Linked DNA regions of Homo sapiens: all the other regions are linked to region 1. The links are contacts of gene promoters, found by promoter capture Hi-C in blood cells and fetal thymus (Javierre and others, 2016). All regions are on one chromosome and are shown on one strand. Each heading gives the region's core, a stretch centred on a gene start or on the middle of the fragment in contact. The rest is flanking DNA. Distances are from core to core; before and after follow the strand shown. Region 1 holds the start of ACSL6 (acyl-CoA synthetase long chain family member 6). Region 2 overlaps RAPGEF6 (Rap guanine nucleotide exchange factor 6). Region 3 overlaps FNIP1 (folliculin interacting protein 1). Region 4 overlaps RAPGEF6 (Rap guanine nucleotide exchange factor 6).

Region 1 (6,297 bases), core at 1,085-3,584:
ATTTGCTGGCTAAGGACCAAGAGGGATATCCAAGGGCTCCCCAGCCTGGCCTGGGCATTTCTGGGCCCTGGGTTCCATGGATGCCACACCCATGCAGTCTAGGGCCTGAGTCACAGCGTCTACCCATGCCTGCAGATGGTCCACAGATTGAGACTCACAGAGAAGGAAGAAGACCTTGGGAACTCAGGACAGGAAAGAACAAGTCCCATTACTCAGTGGAAGGAACAGGCCTAGAGAGGAGAGAGACCTGGCCATGATCCCACAACCAGGCTAGGGCCTTTCTGTCCCCATCTCTCAGGGGAAGCCAAGCCATGCTCAGAGGAAAACAGAAAAATACTTGGCTAAGCTAGAATCAGTCACAGCTCCAGTACTGGTTTTTGAATTAAAATATTCACAAGTAGCAGAGACATCTGTAGGGAGAGTAACGGGATGCGACATCCTGCTGGAGGCCAAGCTAAATGTGTCCCATGACATCACTCTGAAGAGGAGGCTGCCAGAGCCGCATAGGGCCCGGAGTGCTCCTGCAGCTGAGTGCCGCAGAGGCCTGAGGCTTGCAGCCTGGCTCCTGGCCCCCTGCTCTGTGAAGAAATGCTCTGTTGAACCACTGGCCTATGGGGAAATTACCTGACCACCTCCCTAGACCAATCTGGTCTGGGGAGATATGTTCTTTCTGCCCAGGCTTCTGGTTCCCCTGGGTCTCCTCTTCAGTACTAGCAGATCTCCAGTTACTCTGCTGCCAGTGGGAGTGTATGGGTGGGGTGGGGGGATTCTCAAAGCCATGTTACTTGCTGGGAGGAGTCCTGCCATACAGCCTCTGTCACACCCTCTTGGAGGAGCCCTGCCAAGCTTGAGATCCCAGCAAAGTCCCTGCCAGGCTGTGGCTGAGTTCAAGCTGGAGCAGCTCTCCCAGGAGTCCAGATCCTATGATGGAGAAGGTGTAGGATCCTATTGTAAAGATTGGAAGTGACTCAGAGGCACACATCTGCACACTTGCACCACTACAAGGTGCACACAGGCCTGGGCACACACATGCCATGTACTCGTACTACAGATACAGGCCCCCCCACACACCCAGCTGCTGAGCTGTGAGCCCACATGCACTCATGGCTGATGGTCTCTGGTGGGCCTGAAGAGATCTCATGCTCTTCCACTCTCTGCTTCCTGACTTCTGCTCTCTGGTTTTCTATCCTCTTCTTTCTGGGCTGTGGCTCAGCCAGCTCCTGGCCTGGGAGGGCTGCGTATAGAGAAGGCCCGGCTGCCTGAGCGCTGTCCTCGGTGCTGGAGTCCTGGTGGGCTCTGCATGCTTGAGGAAAACAAGCAAGGGCATTGGGAAGAGGTGATCTTGCTTGGAGGTGCAGATGTTCATGGGGTGCCCACCAGGATGCCTACCCTTATTATTTCAGAAAATGTGCAACTGGGCTTCCTCCTTTCAATGGCAGACACTGCAACAGGTGTCCAAGCCCTCAGCCCAGCAGTGTGGGCATCTGTGGCTGTGTGTGGCTATATGGCCATTTATTGTGGCTATGAGGGGCTTCTTGAGACCTCGTGTGCCACATACAGTTGTGTACGAAGATCATGATTTCCTCATGAGACACCTGTGATTCCATGTGGCTGCCTGTGACCATGTTACTACTGGTGAACACATATGGCAGCCTGTGATCACACTGAGTCTCCTGTGACCTTGCGTAGCCTCAGACCTGAACTCGTGCGTCCCCAGATGATCTGGGCACTATCTGGTCTAGCTGCCTGATTTGTCAGAGCCTAGGTGAACACTTGCCACTCCCTCCCCTCACTGGTTTGCAGAGGTGGCACCCGGAGGCTCCCCATGTCTGCAAACTCGGGTCCTAGGGGGCGTTGGTGTCAGCGGGCAACAGCCCACAGGAGTGTGCACCTCCTAGGACAGGTAACCGCGACCCGGCTGCCATTCGAGCCTGCCCAGCCATAAAACCCAGGCTGCGAGTCGCGCGGGGGCAGGGTCGCGTGTTGATGGGGTGGGTGGCGGCGGGGTGGGCTCAATGTCACGCTCTGGCGCTCGTCGCCCGTGCTCCCCCTTCCAGCCGGTTTCCGCAGAATGCCAGGTACTGACGTTGGAGAGCGGGGCCGGAGAGGGCTGGTTCGCTCTGCGGCCGGGCCCCTCCCCCGCCCGGGAGCTTGGCGGTTCCGACACCGCGGTCAGTGCGGGGCAAGCCCCAGACCCGGCCGGCCAGGCTGCAGGGCAGGGAGTAAGGCTCGGTTGCGAGTGCGCGCCGCGCCCTCCCCCTTGAGCCGTCTCCGCAGCGGCGCGGGGAGGCGGGAGCTGCGGGGCCGGAGGGCGGGGGCTAAAAATACCCGGCAGCGGCGGCGGCGGCGCGGCTACTGCTGGGGCTGCTGGGCTGCGGGGCTGCGGGGCTGCGGGTCGGGGAGGCCGGGCCGGGCCGGGCCGGGCCCCGCTGACCGCCATGCTGACCTTCTTCCTCGTGTCGGGGGGCTCCCTCTGGCTATTCGTAGGTAAGTGCCCGTCCTGTCCGCGTCCCGGACTCCCATCTCCCGCAGGCTATGAGGTCTTCGCCCGAGGTGGAGGTGTTACATCTCCGCGGCCGCCGAGCCCCCATCCCCTGCTGCTGAGCTGTCCCGTCAAGGTCCCCAGGGCCGCCTAAGTACACCCTCCGCCCCCAGTTCTCGCGGGCTCCGGGCCGGGTTTGGGGAGCACCTGGGTCTGCGGAGGGAGATATAGGGCTTGCTCTCTGCGACCCCACCACAAACCCCCGCCGAGTTCTTGCGTCCCCCTTCCCTGATGGCAAGGACCATCCGCGGATCAGATTAGGCCCTGAGCCAAGGCCAGGAACAGACATTGCGTCCTTGTCCATCTCCTGGGACCAGAAACCGAGGGTGTTGGTCCCCGAGGTCCCACAGCAGGTCAGCTATGTAACCCGGACTGACCTAGGCTTCCTGATCCCGGCGAGGGGCTTCCTCACGACCCCTCCCTGCCCGTCCTTCAGCCAGAGTACAAGATTTCTGTAAGGTAGGGTTCACCTGGCTCCTCTGCTCTGCCCAGGGCTGCTGTGTCTCCACTGTTTCCAGACCCCTCCCCTCCACCTCACAGGAGTCAGCTTCACCACTGCACTTCTTAGGCGGCTACAAGGACCCCTGCTCGATCCCGCCTCCGCGCTTACCTCCCTCAACCCCCCATACACCCACACCTGGAGTCTCACCACAGGCCCTTTTATCTGCCAGTTCTACCACCTGCACCGGCTACTTCCCCTCTCTGAGCCTGGGGTCCTCCAGAGTATAATACCACTAAAGGATCTCCACCTCCACCCCAACCCCCATGTGCAGATTCAGCCTGATAATTTGTGTGCAGTGCTTGATCCTTAAATTGGCCTTAAACCTGTCCTAGGCCACAGCAAATGCTCTATGAATGTTAGTGTTTATTATTATCTCACATTCAAACAGCACCATCAGAAGTGGTAATAAAGCTTTTTCTGAGCCAAGGAAGGGGAGGAAGTTGACCCTCTTGAAATCTTTACCTGAGGCTTTGTACGTGTTATTTAATATTCATGGAAAACCCTAGGAGGTCGGTGGCACCATCCCTTTTTTTACTGAGTTCAGAGGTCAATTGACTTGCCTAGTGTCACATGGATATTTGGCAGACTGGGATTCCATTCGAGGTTTTAATTGATCAACCAATGCTAAGTGCTTGGCTGGATCAGGCCTGAACCTGGAGGGTTGGTGGGCCTAGTAATCACTTCCTTCACCCCCACCATTTCCTTAAGTTAGGCCACAGGGACACTTCCCCTGAGCTGGGAGAGTGAGTGAAGCCTCCCTAATCCCCTCAGCTCCCTAAGCTCCTTCTGTCTGCCAGTGTCTGTGACTGGCTGTGCAGGGGCACTCTGGTCCTGAGGCACATCCAGCAGACAAGGGCAGGGCTAGAGCTGGGGTTGGAGGTAAAGGGCAAGGATAATTAAAATAATGGTGATGGTGGTCGTAACAGCCACCATTTAATGCCTGAGTGATGGATGGTCTCAGAGCCTCTCCCCACTGCCAGGACCCCTTTGCCCTACCCTCAGGAGGCCCCACCCAACCATGGGTCCAAGGTCAGCTCTCTGAAGACTTGATCTTCTGTGGCTGCAGGGAGGTGTCTAGGGGCTGCAAGACCACTTGTGACCGGGGTCATCAGCAGCCTGTGAGAAAAAGTCCCTCACCCTGTGGGGTCCTTGTCTGTGAGCAGGGTTAGCTGGCACTGACTCAAAGTGGAGTCCTGTTTCCTTGTGGAGCATTTCCTAAAGTGGTCAGCTCCCTCCTCTAATGGGAAACTGGGGAATCTGCCTCACTGAGAGACTATACAGGGCCTCAGAACCGTCAAGCAGGAGCGATTCTTGGGGCAGGTAGTGGCTGCTTCCACAGAGGCCGAGCTTCCCAATGCAAAAAGCAAGAGGCTGAGGCTGGTCTATGGTGCTTATTGGATAGAATAACCCAGACAATTGCTGGGGCATTTTAAGTTATGTATCCACCCTCCTTGAGACTCCACCTGGCCCCCAGCCTTTCTCTGGTGGCAGAAGAGACTCCTGAGTTAAGAGCTGTAGTTCTGTGAGCACACCTGAGAACATGCTCTGCCTTGTCATCTCCAGGGTCCCATGGTCCCACGGCAGCTGCCAGATCCCTTCCACTCAGCCAGTAACAGGAGGCAATGTCTCTCTTTAGTAGAGTTATGTGCTTTTTGCCACCTAACCTGGCCCTAGGGAGACAAGGTAGGGCCAGGCAAGGGTTTCCCTCAAGGGCCCTCAGGGAGAGATGACATAAAGTCGGGGATGGGGGTGTGGCAATGCACCAGGAGGAGGAGCTGACTGTTGTTTGTGGGAGGTAGCCATCTGTTCTGGGCTGTGTCTGTCCTGTTGCCTGCTGGAGAGGCCAGCAATGAGTCCTGGGCCAGCCCAGATCTCACCTGTGTGTTGAATACTAAACAAGGAGACAAGTAAAATAAGTCCAGCATGAGTCAGATGCTAGGTCTGGCTTGGGGAAGCATGCCCTCAGTGCCATAAACACCTAGAGGACAATGGGAGCAGAGGATCAGAGCTTCTGCCTGCCTGTACAGCACCTTTGTGCAAAGTAGGAAGAAGTCTCACTCTTGGTGGATAACTTTCTAAAAGGGCACACCTTCCTCTAGGCTAAGGCAGCCCCATGCCGCAGGGTCTAATCTGTTCAATCATATACCCAACCATCAGTGACATATGAGTGGGCTTCTGCAGCATTCAGGGGAATTTGTCAGAGATAGGGAGGCCAAGATCCAAGTGGAGGAAGCCAGACTAGCAGAGTTTGTGGAAGAACTGCAATGGGGGATGAGTCTTCAAGGTCTTGTGCCTGAGCAATGTGGGTTGTGGGAGAGGATTCTGGAGAAGGTTTTATTTGGATGGTAGAGGATCCCTCCATTTAGCTGCTGAGTCAAGAGGAAGAGAGTGGAGTCCAGGAGGGTAGTAGGAGGTCGTTATGATGTTATGGATAAGAATAGATGTGGTCCAAGGATGGCTTGAGTCATGGCTGGGCTCCAGTAAGGAGAAGAGATAAGCCCCCACCCCTGGCCTCTGCCTTAGGAGAAGTGGGGCTGGCCCTGGTGGGGCGAGACAAAGTTGCCCGTCTAAAGAATGGTTTGGCATGCTCCTGGCTATAGATGCCTAGGGCAAGCATAGACTTGCACACTTTGGCTTAGTTCAGGCCTGTGAGATCCTCCCCTTACCCCACTCTGGGCTCCCATTAGGACAGAGAACTGACTTGAGGTCTAGGGCCACCCCAGGGGTTTGGAGATTGCAGTTATGAATTGGGACAGATGGTAGAGCTCCAGGCAGAACAGGTGGCTCTGTGGCCAGCTGGGGACATGCCTCACAAAGAAAGCCTGAATTTGTACAAGGTGCACCAGCATGGAGCAGGATTTTGCCCGCAGCACCTTCTCACAGCTCTCCAGCCTATATGGTAAGAACATACTGACACCAGGGGGCAGCAGAACCCAGTCATTATGCTCTCCAGCTATTGTTCTGTCCCTTGTGGTTATAAGGATTCATGGGTTGACCTTCAGAAGGCTGAATTTGGCTCAGCTACAGCCCCAGATGGGACTCAGGACTGTCCCATACATGGGGTGAGTGATCATGAGGCTCTGGCTTGTTTATAAAAATGGGCAAAAGTTACAGGCTTTTGTATAACAGAAGCTACACTGTGTATCCAGCCAGCACTGGGCACATAGTAGGCACTCAAATACTCATTAAGTACTAGGTGTGTGTGGAGGGGTGTTTTTATGGGATTAACTATTGCAAACAGGCTGACTTGGCT
Region 2 (6,080 bases), core at 1,407-3,906, 490 kb after region 1:
ACTGTGTCAAATTTGTAAGCATGATTAAAGACGTGATCTGTCTTTTGAGAATGATTAAGTATGGTTCAGCAGAGTATGAATCTAGTGTTCTCTTTCATTTATCCAGGTGAATCCATATTAATATCTAATGCTTGTTTTGGTTAAAAAATTAGTTCTTGGAATAACTGAACTTAAACTTATAAAAAGGCTGATTTTTGTTATAATTGACTGTATATGTCTTCTGTAGTTAGAAGTCATGAAGAAAATTAGAGCTGCTTTTCTACCATAAAGCCTCTGTTGTAGTCTAGCGTGAATTAAATAGCAAATTAGTGAGAATATTGATGGACTTTTCCATTTTCTAAAACCCAAGAGGAACAATTTCAAACCTACTGAGCTTTTCAGTGATCATTGTAATATTGGGGAGAAGGTTCTAGGAAGACCCATAAACTGAGAGAATCCTCACATGATCCTGCTGAGATTGAACCCAAGTTAGGTTCAAGCCAGGGTAATAAGTATTTCAGGATCCAGATAGTGGAACTTCTATGATGTCTTCTTTAATGCAAGTTGTAAGGAGCAGTTCCCTGGGTGTGGAGCCCAGTGGTTGATTTTGTCAGAGATCATGAGTATAGAACATAAAACAGTTTAAATAAAATAACAAGAGGATGCATGATATTGAGGGTTGGTTTGTTAAGGAATTCAAATATATTACCTATTTCAGAACTGTCAAATAGAAATTTAATGTGAGCCACGTATTTAATTTTAAATTTTCTAGTAGCCACATTAAAAAATATAAAAGGAAACAGGTAAAATTCATTTTAGTAATATATTTTATTTAGTGCAGTATAACCAAATACTATAATTACAACATGTATTTAATGTTTTAACATTATGCATGAGTTACCTTACATTACTTTTGCATATTAAGTCATCAAAAAACAGAGTTTAATTTAAAGTTACAGCACATCTCAATTTGGACTAGCCATGTTTTAAGTGCCTAATAACCACATACGGCTAGTGGCTACCATATACTAAGAATTGTAGAAATAGTATCATTGTCTGAGGAAAGCATTTTAGACTGGTTCTACAAAGTTACCCAGATTGAGATATTTTAGGAAAATAGCCTTCTTCTATTCAGGGAAGTTTGTAGGCAGATGCAAAATGGAACAAAGACAATACCCATTTTTTGGTTTATATGTGGCTTTTCTCAACAAAGGTAATTGCTGTGGTCATCTATATCTCCCTGTTTGCTTTTTACAGTATACAGAACAAGGAATTTTTCCCTGTTCTCCATTTTATAGTAGAGAGAACAAAGAATTAAAAGAGAGATGAAACAAGTTAATACAATAGCTCTGGCACCACTTAGTACTTGTGTACCTATTGGGCTTCATGCTTTCTGCCCCTCCCCAAAAGAATTATCTTGTGAAAGAAGAATTGTTGCACACCTAAAAATCAAAGTAGACTGTGTTTTTCCAGAAGAAAACACTGAGGAAGATTGACCCTGGATCAGTGAAATTCAGGGATGTGGCTGTAGATTTCTCTCAGGACATGTGAGAATATCTGGACTTTTCTAAGACTATACACAGAGGTTTAGTGTTGAAAAACTATAGGATGGGAGGCCTAGGCGGGCGGATTACCTGAGGTTAGGAGTTCAAGACCAGCATGACCAACATGGTGAAACCCTGTCTCTACGAAAAATTCAAAAATTAGCTGGGCGTGGTGGCACACATCTGTAATCTCAGCTACTTGGGAGGCTGAGTAAGGAGAATTGCTTGAGCCCAGGAGGCGGAGGTTGCAGCAAGCCAAGAGCATGCCACTGCACTCCAGCCTGGCCGACAGAGCAAGACTCTGTCTCAAAAAAGAAGAAAAGACAAGAAAAACTATAAGAACCTGGTATCACTGGGATATCCACATCTCTAAGCCAGGATAGTGCACAGATTAAGATTCAAGGTCACTTGGAAAGACCAATGCTTTATTGTGAACTAGAAGATGGACTGTACACAGTTGGTCCCTACATCTTTGCAAAGATACTACAGGAGCTCCTATAGGAGCATTGCACTTATATTAGCACCTGCAGATTACTCCCCTTTTAGCTGGACAACCTGAGGATGAGACTGGAGTACACCTGCTGGTGTTGGTTGGAGGTGTTCTATTGCAGGACCATGGCATAGCCTATATCAATATGTAGAATATTTCCATCACCTCAGAAAGTATCCATATGACCCTTTGCAGTCAAGTACCTTCTCCTGACCCCTATCCTATGCCCTGGCAACCACCAATCTCTTTTCTGACCTTATAGTTTTGCCTTTTCCAGAAGGTCATATAAATGGAATCATATAGTTTAAAAAAATATGATGCAATGAAACTTATAAATTAACCAATAAAAGTGGGAATGAATTTAGAGAGCATGAAAAGATAAAAGGAATAAAGATAAAATAAATAAGATAAAACTCTAGAACCAAAATAGGAATGAAGAAATTTAAAGAAGAAACTTATAATAATGTTAACATCAAATATATAAAACCTAAGATAAAATTTTTTAAGAGTAGTCAAAGAAGATAAAAATTTTCAAACTCTGCTGCTGGGCACAGTGGCTCAAGCCTGCAGTCCCAGCACTTTGGGAGGCAGAGGTGGGCGGATCACCTGAGGTCGGGAGTTCAAGACCAGCCTGATCAACATGGAGAAACCCTCTCTCTACTAAAAATAAAAAATTAGCTGGGGTGATGGAGCATGCCTGTAATCCCAGCTACTCAGGAGGCTGAGGCAGGAGAATCACTTGAACCCAGGAGGCGGAGGTTGCGGTGACCCAAGATCACGCCATTGCACTCCAGCCTGGGCAACAAGAGTGAAACTCCGTCTCCAAAAAAAAAAAAAATTTCAAACTCTGACATAACAGTTAACTTTAGGACCATAGCCAAAAGATAGAAACAGCATAAACGCCAAAATAAAAAGAAGCCAATAAAGATAAACACAAAAGGAAAAAAATCAAAATCATAAAAATATACACCTACATACTTATATATTTTTTATATCTCATATGTATAAAATCTTATATATCATATCTATGAGATAAGTAGGTATTTTTAACATTTTATTTATATTTCGTTAAATAAATATATATACCTGTATACTTAAATATGTTATACTTGTAGATACAGAATGTAAATCCGAGTTCAAGAACACCAGTTAGTAACAGTGTTTTTCTACTAGTGGTGGGTTTGTGGGTAGTTTTTATTATGTTTCTTAAACGAACATTTTTATTTATTTAACAAATATTAAGGAGGACGTAAATAGATTGTATAGTTAAAAGTTGAAAAAAAAATTGGAAAATATTTAAAGGAGAGTAAAAGGAATAAACACAGAATTATAATAGATTGATAAGATATACCCTCCAAAGTACAAGATTTCTATAATTTTAATCCATGGGTAAGAGAAATGTCTAACTAAATTTTGTGTGTGTGTGTGTGTGTGTGTGTGTGTGTGTGTGTGTGTGTACATGCGCGAATGTTTCCAATCAGATCCTCGGGAATAAACAAGGAGAAGAATTAAATATCAGTACTGGACCCTTGATCTTTCCTTTCACCTTAGGCTGCCTTTAGATTCCCTTTTGGAGCTATGAATATACCCCTTAGTTACAGGTGTACATTGCCAATGTATGTATCTTAGCCTGGGATAGCTGAAGTGATTTGTCTAGTTATTTGAATTTTAGCATTTGAGAGATTTTTTAAGTGAACACCTAGCCTTTAACACCATAAGAAAAGCCTTGTGAAATGATAGAAGTATTTTTAATTTGGACAGTTGAGGGGAAGATATCCTAACAGCAATTTTTTTTTAGTGTTTCTGCTTTTATTCTTCTAGAAATTTAGAAACGTTTCAAGTGAAATCCAGCTTTTTTTGTGGGGCAGAAGACTATATATAGATTAATTTGGGCATTTTTTTCTAACGTGGAGTCTTCTTATCCAGAAAAATGGATGTCTCCCCAATTTTTAAAAATAATTTCAACTTTTATTTTAGATGCAGGGGGGTACATGTGCAGATTTCTTACATAGTATATTGCGTGGTGCTGAGTGTTTGGGGTTCGAATGATCCCATCACCCAGATAGTGAGCATAATACCCATTCGGTGGTTTTTCAGCCCTTGCCCCTCTCTCCCTGCCCTAATAGACCCCAGTGTCTGGTGTTCCTATCTTTAGGTCCATGTGTACCCAATTGTTAGCGCCCACTTATAAGTAAGAACATGCGGGATTTGGTTTTCCTGACAGCAGTTCTTAACAGGAAAACTGTTTACACTGTTTTATATGGCCAAATGTGTGGCTACACTTCTATGCATTTCCTTCTTGAGAGTTTTCATGTCTTCTGGTCTAAAAATAAAAGCCCTTGGCCCTCAAAGAAACTTCAAAATATAGCATGTACTATAGTGTGGAGGGAAAAAAAGGCAAATCAATGATTCCAGTGTGAATGTGTTTCTAATCAGCATAGATTAAAATTTTAAAGTATACATTAAGGTGTAAGAGTGTTCTTAGATAGAATATTTTCTGCATCTTCAAAGAGTATTCAAGAGAATAAGGAGTACTTCTTTCTAGATTCCTTTTTCTATTTATTTCAGTCTTTTCCATGAGCTGGAAAACTGTGAAATATTGACTCTTGAACAAAAGCATGTTGTCTTTTTGTTAACTCATTCTTAAACAACTCCAGACACACATTTATCCACCACCTACCTTTTCAGTTTCTATATAGGCAGTAAGCGTGTTCTTAAAAATCCCAAGACTTCAGTTACCACCTCTATGGCAACATGATTTCCTAATGCACAGCTCGGAGTGCCAATCTCTTCAGAACTCTGGTGCCACGTTTTCACCAGTATGTTCTTTTGTCAACTCAAGTCACCACATGTTCTCTTACACCTTTCTTTAATATTTCTGTTAAGAATATCATCTGAGGCTGGGTTCGGTGGATCACTTGAGGTCAGGAGTTTGAGACCAGCCTGGCTAACATAGCAAAACCCCATCTCTACTAAAAATACAAAAAAAAGTAGCCACGTGCGGTGGCGCATGCACCAGCTACTCAGGAGGCTGAGGCAAGAGAATCGCTTGAACCCAGGAGGCAGAGGTGCAGTGAGCCAAGATCGCACCACTGCACTCCAGCCTGGGTGACAGAGAAAGACTCCGTCACAGAAAAAAAAAAAAAAAAAAAAAAAAAAAAAAAAAAAAAAAAAAAAAAAAAAAAAAAAAAGGATATCATCTGAGTCCTAGTCAAAATCTGTTATCATCTTTTGACTATCATTTTTAAACTCCCACTTGAAATAAATTGCTCTGATTTTTAATTACTCTTGTATTTAAAAAGCTTTAATTCTTCACTGTTATCTAAATTACACTCTTAATTTTAAATTCCAAGCCTTTTACCTCTAACTACAATGTAGTTTTATATTTTACTGTTCCCCCACTTACACATTCTAGATTCTGCCCCATCACATATGTACGTTATTCCCTGAACATGTCTGCCTTTTCCTAGTCTTGTGTTTTAATCATGCTCTTCTACCCGTAGCTTCATGAAGATGACATTTTCATGTTATCTCCCATGTCTTTCCAACAAGAAGAAATGTCTCCTTCCTTGGAATCCCTCAGCAGTTTTTCTCTCGGACATGTCACTTTTTCTCTCTGCTTTTTTTGGTAGTTACTTGTAAACTTGACATTTTTCATCACCAGAGTAAATTTATGGAGTGCAGAGTTGATGTCTTAAATTTGTATCCCATGGTGAGTCAGGCACAGTGTTGGCATTTAGGAAGTACTCTAGAAATTCTTTTTTTGCACTGAATTATATTTGAAAGTAGAAACCAATATTGGCTTCAAGGAAAATGCAGATCTCTGCTAACTAAAACTTTATTATCCAGGGCAAAAGAGACTTGATTTTGCCTGCCTGCCGTGTTGTAGAGGTTATGAAATGGGTCAACCTGGACTGAAAGATTAACTTCATAGAGTTCTAACCCTGACCAGGAAGACCTAAGAACTAAATGGTCCATGAAAAGGTTAAATGAAATACTAAAGATGGGAATACAGAAAAGAGAGGCACTGAAAGTCTAAGGCTTAACACTTGCCCTAAATTTGAAAA
Region 3 (5,761 bases), core at 2,787-5,286, 260 kb after region 1:
AAATCATTTGTCTGTCTTTTCTGTTAGACTGAGCATTTCATGGTATGGCTATCTTTTTCTTTTCATGCTGAATGAACGCTTTTAAGTCAGTGAATGAATACATAAAGAATGTGACAGAGAAATATTCCCAGTACCTGGCATTATGCTGTGAGTGTGGTAAATGTTTAATATGTCTGTTTTAGGCCGGACATGGTGGCTCATGCCTGTAATCCCACCACTTTGGGAGACCAAGGCAGGCACATCACGAGGTCAAGAGATCAAGAACATCCTGGCCAACATGGTGAAACCCTGTGTCTACTAAAAATACAAAAATTAGTTGGACATGGTGGCATGTGCCTGTAGTCCCAGCTACTCAGGAGGCTGAGGCAGGAGAATTGCTTGAACCCGGGAGGTGGAGGTTTCAGTGAGCTGAGATTGTGCTACCGCACTCCAGCCTGGTGACAGAGCGAGACTCTGTCTCAAAAAAAAAAAAAAATCTGTTTTAATGAGATGTCCATAATGTAATGTAACTTGATGAATATAGTATTACTTTTTTTAGTAGTCTTTCTCTTTTAAAAATTGAGCTATAATTTGCATATAATAAAATGTATAATTTATTTTGAAAAATATATGCATCTACTTAACCACAATGGCAATAAAGATAAAGGACATTTTGATCACTCTGGAAAGTTCCTTAGTATACATTTCTCCTCCATTTCCCTCACTCCCTATCCCTGATCACTGCTTTGATTTCTATCATTGTCCATTAGTTTTACCTCTTCTACACATAAATAGAATTATCAGTAGGTGCCCCATTGTGTCTGGATTCTTTCATGCAACAGTATTTTTTGAGTTCATCTTTGTTACCGTGGGATCAGTAATTCATTCCTTGGTATTTCTGAGTAGTATTTCAATGTAGGAATATATCGTAGTTTGTTTATCCATTCTCTGTGGCATTTGGGTTTAAATAAAACTGCAGTGAACATTTCTGTGAGAGTATTTGTGAACATTTATTTTCATTTTTATTGGATAAATTTCCTGTGAGAGGAATTGCTGAATCATAGCTGTCAAGCAATATTCCAAAAATGGTTGTACACTTTTACACTCCTACTAACAATGTATGGGAGTTCCAAGGGCTTCATATTATTACCAACCACTGGTGTTATTAGTCGTGTCAGTTTTAGCCATTTTAATGCTTGTGGCCATTTTTTTTGTTTGTTTGTATGTTTTTGTTTTGTTTTGAAACGATGTTTCACTCTTGTTGCCCAGGCTGGAGTGCAGTGATGCAATCGTGGCTCACTGCAACCTCCACCTCCCGAGTTCAAGCAATTCTCCTGCCTCAGCCTCCCAAGTAGCTGGGATTACAGGCATGCACCACCACACCTGGCTAATTTTATATTTTTTTTTAGTAGAGTTGGGATTTCTCCCATGTAGGTCAGACTGGTCTTGAACTCTTGACCTCAGGTGACCCACCTGCCTTGGCCTCCCAAAGTGCTGGGATTACAGGCGTGAGCCACCGCGCCCGGCCGTGGCCATGTTTTAATTTGCATTTCTCTGATGATTAACACTGTTAATTATCATTTCCACATACTGATTATCCATTCATATATCTCCTTTTGTGAAATGCCCAAGTTGTACCTGTACCCTTTTAAAATTGGATTGTTTATTGCTTACTGCTTTGTGGGGGTTGTTTTGGCTGTTTATAAGTTTTTATCAGATATGTGCATTGCAAATATTGTCTTCCAATCTCTGGACTGGTCTTTTTTTTTTTTTTTAGATGTTCAGGTTTAAAATTTTTATAAAGTCCAACTTACCAATTTTTTATTTTATGCATAGTAATTTTTGTATCTTGTTTAAGAACTCTTTGCCTAACCTAAGGTGGCATAATCACCTGTGTTTCTTTATAGAAGCTTTATAATTTTACCTTTTTCATAAAGTCCTATTTTAAATTAACAAAGAATACAAATTCATGGCTGGGCGCGGTGGCTCACACCTGTAATCCCAGCACTTTGGGAGGCCGAGGCAGGCAGATCATGAGGTCAGGAGATGAAGACCATCCTGGCTAACAAGGTGAAACCCTGTCTCTACTAAAAATACAAAAAATTAGCCGGACGTGGTGGCTGGCACCTGTAGTCCCAGCTACTCGGGAGGCTGAGGCAGGAGAATGGCGCGAACCGGAGAGGCGGAGCTTGCAGTGAGCCAAGATCGCGCCACTGCACTCCAGCCTGTGCAACAGAGCGAAACTCTTGTCTCCAAAAAAAAAGAATACAAACTCACAAATAAGTTTGGTAATAAAGCCTTTTTTATTATTGCTGAGATATACTTCACATTCCATAAAATCTACTCTTCTAAAGTGCGTGATTCAGTGTTTTAGGTTGGTTTGGTTGTTGCTGTTTTTGTTTGTGGTATATTTACAAAGTTTTTTGGTGACCATCACCACTGTCTAATTCCAGAACATTTCATCTCCCCAGAAAGAAACCTCGTACACATTGCAGTCATTATGGATTTGCCTATTCTGGACAAGTCATGTAAATGGAATCATCATACGTAGCCTTTTTGTGTTTGGCTTTTTTTCCTTAACCTAATGTTTTCAAGGTTCACCCATGTAGTATGCATTCTTTTTATGGCCAAATACTCCATTGTATTGACATACCACATTTTGTTTATTCATGAGTTCATGGACATGCCTTTTAACTTTTTAAAGAAAGCACATTTGTTTTTTCTTCTTCTTTTTTTTTTTTTCAGATTGTGGAATCCATTCACTCCTGAAATATTTAGTGCCTATGATATTACATTTACTTAGGGATATGTAGTTTTACTCATTTACCAAGCTTGGGACTGGGGATTCAAAGATGAATAAGATCTTCCCTCAGGGAGCTTTTTTTTTCTAGTGGAAGAAACAGGCATGTGAACAGATAAATTACAAGACAATCTGATGAAGATACTATTAGATTTATAATCTAAGGTAAAGTGTAATCCCAAAACTCAGTAGCTAACTCTGCTTGGAGGAATGAATAAGAACTTTTTAGAGTAGGTGACATTTGGAGCTAGATCTTTAAGAATAAATAAGAGTTTGCCAGGAGAGTGAGAATATTTCAGGTAGAAGACATGGCTTGTACAAAGGCATGGAATTGATATATCTTGGCACCTTTGAGAAGCTCAGTATGATAATTATGGGTAACATGAAAAGAGTCTGGAAAGGCAGATCTGGGCCAGCCCATGAAGAGCTTTACATCTAAGCAAAGGAACTTGGATTTTATTCTTTGGGTGTCTGGGAGACCAAAGGAGTTTGGCTAAATGAAATGGCATCACTGCTTATATAAGGTCTGTTAGAAGACCACATATCCAGTGAAGCCCAACTTTTCATTTTCTCCAGAAAATTTTGTCCATATTAGGCACCTTTTAAAAAATGAATGTATTGGCCAGGTGTGGTAGCTCGTGCTACCTGTAATCCCAGCAGATTACTTGAGGCCAGGAGTTTGAGACCAGCCTGGCCAACATGGCAAAACCCTATTTCTACTAAAAGTACAAAAACTAGCTGGGCGTGGTGGCACATACCTGTAATCTCAGCTAATTGGGAGGCTGGGGCACAAGAGTCTCTCAAGCTCAGGAGGCAGAAGTTGCAGTGAGCCGAGATCATGCTACTGCACCCCAGCCTGAGAGACAGAGAGAGACTCTGTCTAAAAAAAAAAAAAAAGAAAGAAGGGAAGAATATACCTCCCCTCAACCCAAACCATTCTCTCACTACCACCTTCTATCATAGTCTATTGACTTACCTGAAGTTATCAAGTTAATTTATTTCTTTGCTTAGCTACTGTTGTATCTTTCTTCCAGAGAGGTTCTTTTTTATCTTGCCCTAACCACTGCTTGGCACATAGTAGGTACATATCTGTATTTAATGATTAAATGAGCTATTCTACCTCTAATATCTTAAACTCTAGGATCCTGCCCTGTGATTATAGCCTCCTATTCCTTGTCCTCTCTGCCTCCCACTCTCCTTCTTTGCGTTTTTTCAGCACTTTGACCGTACTGCCTCCATTTTCTTTTGTTATTGTTGTCCCATCACTACGTTCCCTAACTAGCTTAGATCAATTCAGCTGTATTCTTGTCAGTCTTATACTCCATTTCCATAGCCTTCCTTTTCTTTTGTTCCGTATACCTATCAAAACCCTTACCTTGGCACAGTCTGATCCAAATTCAAGCACATGAGGTCCTACTGGAGAAAATCACCTAACTGTAGTTTGCAGCCAGTACATCGTCCTAGTTCATAGTCTTCAACGTTATGTAGATGTACAGCATTGCCTGGAAATCTTATGTTTTCTATTCAACATACACTCATGCACCAGTGAATGATGGGGCTCTGTTCTGAGGAATGCATTGTTAGGCAATTTTGTTGTTATGCAAACATCACACAGTGTACTTACACACACTAGATGGTATAGTCTACTACACACCTAGGCTGTATGATAATAGCCTATTGCTCTTGGGGTACAAACCTGTACAGCGTATTGCTGTGCTGAACACTGTAGGGAGTTGTAACACAATGGTAAGTATTTGTGTATCTAAACATATCCAAACATAGAAAAGGTACAGCAAAAATATGGTATAAAAGATAAAAAGTAGGCCGGGCACAGTGGCTCACACCTGTAATCCCAGCACTTTGGGAGGCCGAGGCAGGCGGATCACCTGAGGTCAGGAGTTTGAGACAAACCTGGCCAACATGGTGGAACCACATGTCTACTAAAAATATAAAAATTAGCCAGGCATGATGGCACACGCCTGTAAACCCAGCAACTGGGGAGGCTGAGGCAGGAGAATCACTTGAACCCGGAAGCGGAGGTTGCAGTGAGCCAAAATCGCACCACTGCACTTCAGCCTGGACGATAGACTGAGACTGCATCTCAAAAAAAAAAAAAAAAAAGATAAAAAGTGGTACACTTATATAGGGCGATCCATTCACTTACTGTGAATGGATTTTGCGAGACTGGAAGTTACTGGGTGAGTCAGTGAGTGAGTAGTCAGTGACTGTGAAAACCTAGGACAGTGTTGTACACTACTGTAGGTTTTATAAATAAGCACTGTATACTTAGGCTACATTAAATTTATTAAAAATGTTTTTCTTCAATAATAAAATTAACCTTAGCTTATTGTAAGTTTTTTCCTTATTAACTTTTTAATTTTAAAATCTTTTGAACTGTTGTGTAGTAACACTTTGTTTAGGACACAAACATTGTACAGCTGTACAAACATATTTTCTTTCTTTATGTGCTTATTCTAAGCTTTTTTCAGTTAAATTTTTTTAACCTTTTTGTTAAAAACTGAGACACAAACACACCATTAACGTAGGCCTACATAGAGTCAGGATTATCAGTACCACTATCTTCCATCTCCACATCTTGTCCCACTGTAAGGTCTTTAGGAGTAATAACACACATGGAACTGTCATCTCTTATGCTAATAATGCCTTTTTCTGGAATACCTCCTGAAGGATCTGCTTAAGGCTGTTTTACAGTTAATTTTTTTATAAGTAGGGGTACACTTTAAAATAATGATAAAAGTATAGTAAATTCATAAACCAGTAACATAGTCTTTTTTTTTTTTTTTCTTTTTTTTTTTTGAGACAGAGTCTCACTCTGTCGCCCAGGCTGGAGTGCAGTGGCGCAATCTTGGCTCACTGCAACCTCTGCTTCCTGGGTTCAAGAGATTCTCCTGCCTCAGCCTCCTGAGTAGCTGGGACTACAGGTGCATGCCACCACGCCTGGCTAATTTTTGTTTTGTACTT
Region 4 (5,604 bases), core at 580-3,079, 510 kb after region 1:
GCTCATGCCTGTAATCCCAGCACTTTGGGAGGCCAAGGTAGACAGATCATTTGAGGTCAGGAGTTCGAGACCAGCCTGGCCAACATGGTGAAACCCTATTTCTACTAAAAATACAAAAATTAGCTAGGCATGGTGGTGGCCGCCTGTAATCAATCCCAGCTACTCGGGAGGCTGAAGCAGGAGAATTGCCTGGACCCAGGAGGCGGAGGTTGCAGTGAGCCGAGATCACACCATTGCACTCCAGCCTGGGCGACAGAGTGAGACTCCGTCTCAAAAACAAACAAACAAAAACAGATTCAGTCCAGAAACCCTATTTAGATTTTCACCAGCTATCCCAATAATAACTTACTTCTGGTCTAGAGTGTTGTCCAAGAACACAGTTGCATTTAGTTGTCATGTCACTTCAGTCTGTACCAGTTCCTCAGTCCTTCACTGTTGTTAATATCCTTAGCAGTTTTAAAGAATACAGATCATACATCCTGTAGTATTACCCTCCACCTGGATCTTTCCAGTATTTCCTCATGACCAGATAGATTCAAGTCATGCTTTCCTGGCAGGAGTTCACAAAACTCAGAGGGCACACAATGTCAACCTGTTGTCCTACCAATGGTGAAGTTAGCCATGATTACTGATCATGTTGGTGTCTGTCTGCCCAGTTTCTTCAGTGTAAAGTCATCATTTTACCCTTTGTAACTGATAAATATTTGGTGGAGAGATGTTCTGACAGTATCAAAATACTATCCTCAGACTTTTAGTTTATGTATAGTATGCACTGAATACAAACTTCTATTCGGCACTTTTTACTTCCATTACTATTCTTGTCTGAAATGGTGATTTTAAAAATAATTTCTCATGCATTTATTAACTCATTGTATTGAAGGAATGAACTGTCTTGTCTTCATTAATTTATTTATATTGGTATAAACTTATGTTACCATCATTCTTATTCTGATCCTCAAATTGTCCCAGGTTTTAGGTAGTGGGACTCTTAAACTGACACCTGTATTTTTTGACATATCCCCATCATTTGAGCACATCCGTATAATCTGGCAAATAATAAGGCTCATCGTGAACTTAACTGTACCAGCTCTGGAATTAGCCATTTCTCAAGAAGACCCTGAATCTTTATTCATTGTTACTGAAGTGTCATTGCTTTTAGAGTCTTTCATCAGAGCTAGGAAATATATGTATGTATTTGTTATAAACACATACACATCTATAACTTTATATATATATTAAACAACCATGAGTTACAATTCCACTACTACCTGTACCTCCAGTTCCAGTACCAGCACCACAGTTTTCCCTAGTCTATTCCCTTCTATATTTGTAAATACCTTCTCCAACAATGCCTCTTGTTATACTCTGTATATTATTTGCTCATTGTAAGCAGTTTCTACCATGCCAGTATAACAACACCAGCCATCTCTTCTGCTTGCTACCTCTGTGCACCCTGTCTCCCAGCATCCCACCTTCTAATATATTTTACAATAGATTTTAAACACTGTGTTGATTTTTTTAAGTGAAAGTTCAGAACATCAAAAATACTTGAACATAAATTTGCCGTGAGTTTATACACACCTTAAAATGTTTCCAGATTCTGATTGCATGCTGATGGGTTGCTTTTGTGACATAAATATTGAAAATATGTTATTTTTACTGTACTACAATCTTCACATTGAGATTTAATTGCAAATCATAACCATCTTTTGCTCATAGAAGGATTGATCATTTGATTTTTTTTTTTTTTTTGGAGACAAAGTCTCACTCTGTCACCCAGGCTGGAGTGCAGTGGCACGATCTTGGCTCACTGCAACCTCTGCCTCCTGGGTTCAGGCAACTCTTGTGCCTCAGCCTCCTAGGTAGCTGTGACTACAGGTGCATGCCATCACTCACAGCTTTTTTTGTTTGTTTGTTTGTTTGTTTTTGTATTTTTAGTAGAGGTGGGGTTTTGCCATTTTGGCCATTTGGCCGGGCTGATCTCTAACTCCTGACCTCAAGTGATCCTCAGGTCAAGGCCAAGCATGGTGCCTCAGACATGTAATCCCAGCACTTTGGGAGGCCAAGGTGGGCTCCAGAAGTGCTGGGATTACAGGTGTGAGCCACCGCACCTGGCCTTGACTTTCTGTTTACACATAATCACACAGAAAGCAGTTACTACTTTTCATTTCATTCATTTCTTCATTCAGTTCATTTCTTCATTTATTCAACAACACTGACTTTATGGTACTCTATGCCAGGCCCTGTGTGAGATCTGGGAGATACTAATATATACTTAGATTCTGCTATCAGTGAACTCACAGTCTTTTGAGAAAGACAAGGCGATAGTTTCAGCATGACTTGATAAATCTTAAGATGGAAGAGCAAGAGAGACATAAAAAGAGGGATCTAAATTAGGCTAGAAGAAATAGCAAGAAGATATAGGGAGGAAGGGTGGCCAGACAGAGACATATGCATGTGCTATATAAAATTGCATAATATATTTAAGAAAAAGCAGGAAATTTGTGTGGCTGGGATCAAGGGCATTTTGAGGTAAGATAGATTTTAGTCTAAAGAGGTAAGGGCTCATCTTTAAATAAAATTTAGAATGCATGACCTAGTCTCTATAGGGACCCTGCCTCTGTGATTTTGCCAGTCAGAATAATGGCCTAACATGTTGAACAGTTCCCATCCCTCACTCAGCTATTCTAGGAAATGGAATTAAGTGAACCTAAATGACCCTAAACCAGGATTGGCCTGAGTAATAAAACAATTTGGTACTCTTAGGCTTAGAATGTTTTGGAGGATAGGAGAATAGGAATGACCTATGATTTTCTTATCTCTTAAGGAGGTTGTTTCTGAGTTCCTTCTAGAGAAACGATTTTCGTACCTTATTTTTAATTAATAAAATAGGGCCAGGCACAGTGGCTCACGCCTGTAATCCCAGTACTTTGGGAGGCCATGGAGGATGGATCACGAGGTCAAGAGTTCGAGACCAGCCTGACCAACATGGTGAAACCCCGTCTCTACTAAAAATACAAAAATTAGCTGGGCATAGTGGTGCATGCCTGTAATTGCAGCTACTCAGGAGGCTGAGGCAGGAGAATTGCTTGAACCCAGGAGGCGGAAGTTGCAGTGAGCTGAGATCGCGCAGCGGCACTCCAGCCTGGGCGACAGAGCCAGACTCCGTCTCAAAAATAAATAAATAAAAATAAAGTACCTTTTAATAAATAAAGTACCTTTTTATTTTTAATAGATTCTTAGATAAAGAACATTGTTAGTATTAATGTATGTTTACCACACAGTTATTCTAAACAATGAAATTGTTTGGATGACTGCAACAAATTGAAGGTTGGGTGTTATGGATAACAGTTTTTATATCAGGCTTAACATCTTGTTTGTTTCTGTATTTGTTCTTGTACCAACCTTTGAAAAAGCTACAAAGGGTAATAAACATTGGTTCAGAAGCTCAAAGAAGAGCAGTATGGAAATTTTTGTTTATATTCTTTTTTTTTTTTTTTTTTTTTTGAGACAAAGTCTCGCTCTTGTCGCCCCAGCTGGAGTGCAGTGGCATGATCTCCGCTCTCTGCAACCTCCACCTCCCGGGTTCAAGCAATTCTGCTGCCTCACCCTCCTGAGTAGCTGGGATTATAGGCGCCGGCCACCACACCCAGCCAATTTTTGTATTTTTAGTAGAGACGGGGTTTCACCATGTTGGCCAGGCTGGTCTTGAACTGTGGACCTCAGGTGTTCTGCTCTCCTTGGCCTCCCAAAGTGCTGGGATTACAGGCATGAGCCACACCACGCCCAGCCTGTTTATATTCTTTTATAAAGTTGGAAACAAGCATTTAAAACTCTGAATTAATTTCAAAACTGTCTGTAGAACTTCTGGTTCCTCTCAATATGGTGACCTAGCATGGAGAGGAAACTGTATGAGAGGAACTGTAGAAAAGGAAATATTTATTCTGGGAAGTAACAATAATGAAACAGGCTCTCTTGAACTGGTGTGTTCTTCCTACAGCCTGGTCAGAAAAGATTTTTGAGGTGGATTAAATTTGGAGAAAAGCTTTCTTTTTTCTTTCTTCCCTTTCATTCCTTTCTTTTTCTTTCTTTCTTTAGTTTAACTTTCACCTCTTTTGTTGCCTTGAGACAATAAATACATGCCCTGGTTGTAGGAGAAGTGGCAGTAACAGCCCACACCAGGGCTAAGTTAGTGAAGTTCAAAGGTCCTGCTATGATGAAATGCCAGTGAAAACAGCTTCAGCTGAGTGAGTGCTGTTGGCTATTTATTTCTCTGCCTTTTCTGTCTCTCAACCTCTGGGTGCTGGTGGATTACAATTAAGTTTGCATTCCAATTCTCCCAGCGCTAAGGATTTAAAGGCGAAACTGTACTTTGACGATTTGTCTAATGGAGTAGCTACAAAGCGGAGTAATCAACAATAGTTCTTTGGTTCTTGGGTCATTTGTTTATTTTCTAATCCTTCCTATCCTTGGATTTTTAGGCAACACCTGAGCGTCTCATAATGCATTTAATAGAAGAACATTCCATCGTGGATCCAACTTATATAGAAGATTTTCTATTAACTTACAGGACATTTCTTGAAAGTCCTTTGGATGTTGGGATCAAACTATTGGAATGGTTTAAGATCGACAGCTTAAGAGATAAGGTTGGTTTTATAAGGGGCATGAAAGTGATTTTAACCCAAAATTTTATTCATGAAACTTTTATAGTTGATAGATTACCTGTTTATTATGATAATAAGATTCAGTACACCTAAAAAAATTAATGAACCTGAACCATCAGTATAAACATTCTCTGCTTACTTTTATGACAGAATAGCATGCTAAAAGTGGACGAGAGCCTTAAAAGGCAAAAACTGAAATAAAGCTCTGGTATAGCTATAGGTTCAGGAAACATAATAGTTACATGAGAGTATTTTAGAATTTTACTGAAATACTTGATTGTTTCTGGAGATCAATAAAACATTTTAAAACGGATTTAATATTTTAGAAAGAATATTCATCAAATACATTTTTTTAAGAGGGCAGATTGCTTTTAAGCTTCAAAATGGGAATATTTTTATTTTCTTGAGTTACAGACTTCACAATCATTTGAAAACAATTTATCAAACCTTAATATGTCTCTCCTGTGACTTATTTAAATCTACCTTTTGAGTATTTTTTTGTATTAAATGTTGTTCACTATTTTAAATAAATTAGCTTATTTCATGGGATATGTTTGCACATTTAATGGAAAGACTAGTAATACTTCCACAAATTGGTAAGAAATAAGTTGTTTCAAGAAAATAAAAGTAGGATCATAATTGTCTGGTGTGTCTTTTTGAGTTATATTTTAAAGGAAATAAACTAGTTGCAGGTAAACTGCAGAATTCTTTTATTTAGGAGACTAACATCTAAAACTACAGGCTTGCACACCTCTCACCCTTTTTCTTAGAATTAAATATATTTACCTTGGTTGCCAAGAAAATAAAGGCATGCTTTGGAAATGAACAAGAATATGATTTAGTGATAATTATCCATATGCAAAAGAATGAAAATGGATTACCACCTTATACTATAAACAAAAATGTACCCAAAATGGGTCAGAGACAGAAGAGCTAAAAC

Evidence for each region. The method cuts DNA at HindIII sites, captures the fragments that hold promoters and counts their contacts. A CHiCAGO score of 5 or more calls a contact.
Region 2: a contact is called between a fragment that was not itself captured here and the fragment with the promoter of ACSL6 in region 1, in 5 of 17 cell types (naive B cells, naive CD8 T cells, total CD4 T cells and 2 more). The highest score is 6.6, in naive B cells.
Region 3: a fragment that was not itself captured here is called in contact with the fragment with the promoter of ACSL6 in region 1 in 7 of 17 cell types (M2 macrophages, M0 macrophages, M1 macrophages and 4 more); the score reaches 7.4 in M2 macrophages.
Region 4: a contact is called between a fragment that was not itself captured here and the fragment with the promoter of ACSL6 in region 1, in 7 of 17 cell types (activated CD4 T cells, total CD4 T cells, non-activated CD4 T cells and 4 more). The highest score is 7.5, in activated CD4 T cells.

What each region holds. Positions count from the first base shown.
Region 1 is chr5:132,007,695-132,013,991 of GRCh38, reverse strand. ACSL6 (acyl-CoA synthetase long chain family member 6) reads left to right here and starts at 2,334. Exons shown (of 21, transcript NM_001009185.3): 1 at 2,334-2,487. The coding sequence starts at 2,439. LOC124901062 (a long non-coding RNA gene) reads right to left here and starts at 2,536. Exons shown (of 2, transcript XR_007058933.1): 1 at 2,447-2,536. RefSeq lists a silencer at 5,903-6,022. The HindIII fragment of the contact is 2,609 bases long and covers 849-3,457 here.
Region 2 is chr5:131,515,171-131,521,250 of GRCh38, reverse strand. The region is part of intron 7 of RAPGEF6 (Rap guanine nucleotide exchange factor 6); the gene reads left to right. Among named protein-coding and RNA genes, the nearest start is that of RAPGEF6, 120 kb to the left of the region's middle. The HindIII fragment of the contact is 5,323 bases long and covers 1-5,317 here.
Region 3 is chr5:131,748,532-131,754,292 of GRCh38, reverse strand. The region is part of intron 1 of FNIP1 (folliculin interacting protein 1); the gene reads left to right. Among named protein-coding and RNA genes, the nearest start is that of FNIP1, 46 kb to the left of the region's middle. The HindIII fragment of the contact is 2,448 bases long and covers 2,813-5,260 here.
Region 4 is chr5:131,497,485-131,503,088 of GRCh38, reverse strand. It overlaps RAPGEF6 (Rap guanine nucleotide exchange factor 6), which reads left to right. Exons shown (of 28, transcript NM_016340.6): 12 at 4,482-4,646. Among named protein-coding and RNA genes, the nearest start is that of RAPGEF6, 130 kb to the left of the region's middle. The HindIII fragment of the contact is 4,437 bases long and covers 1-4,047 here.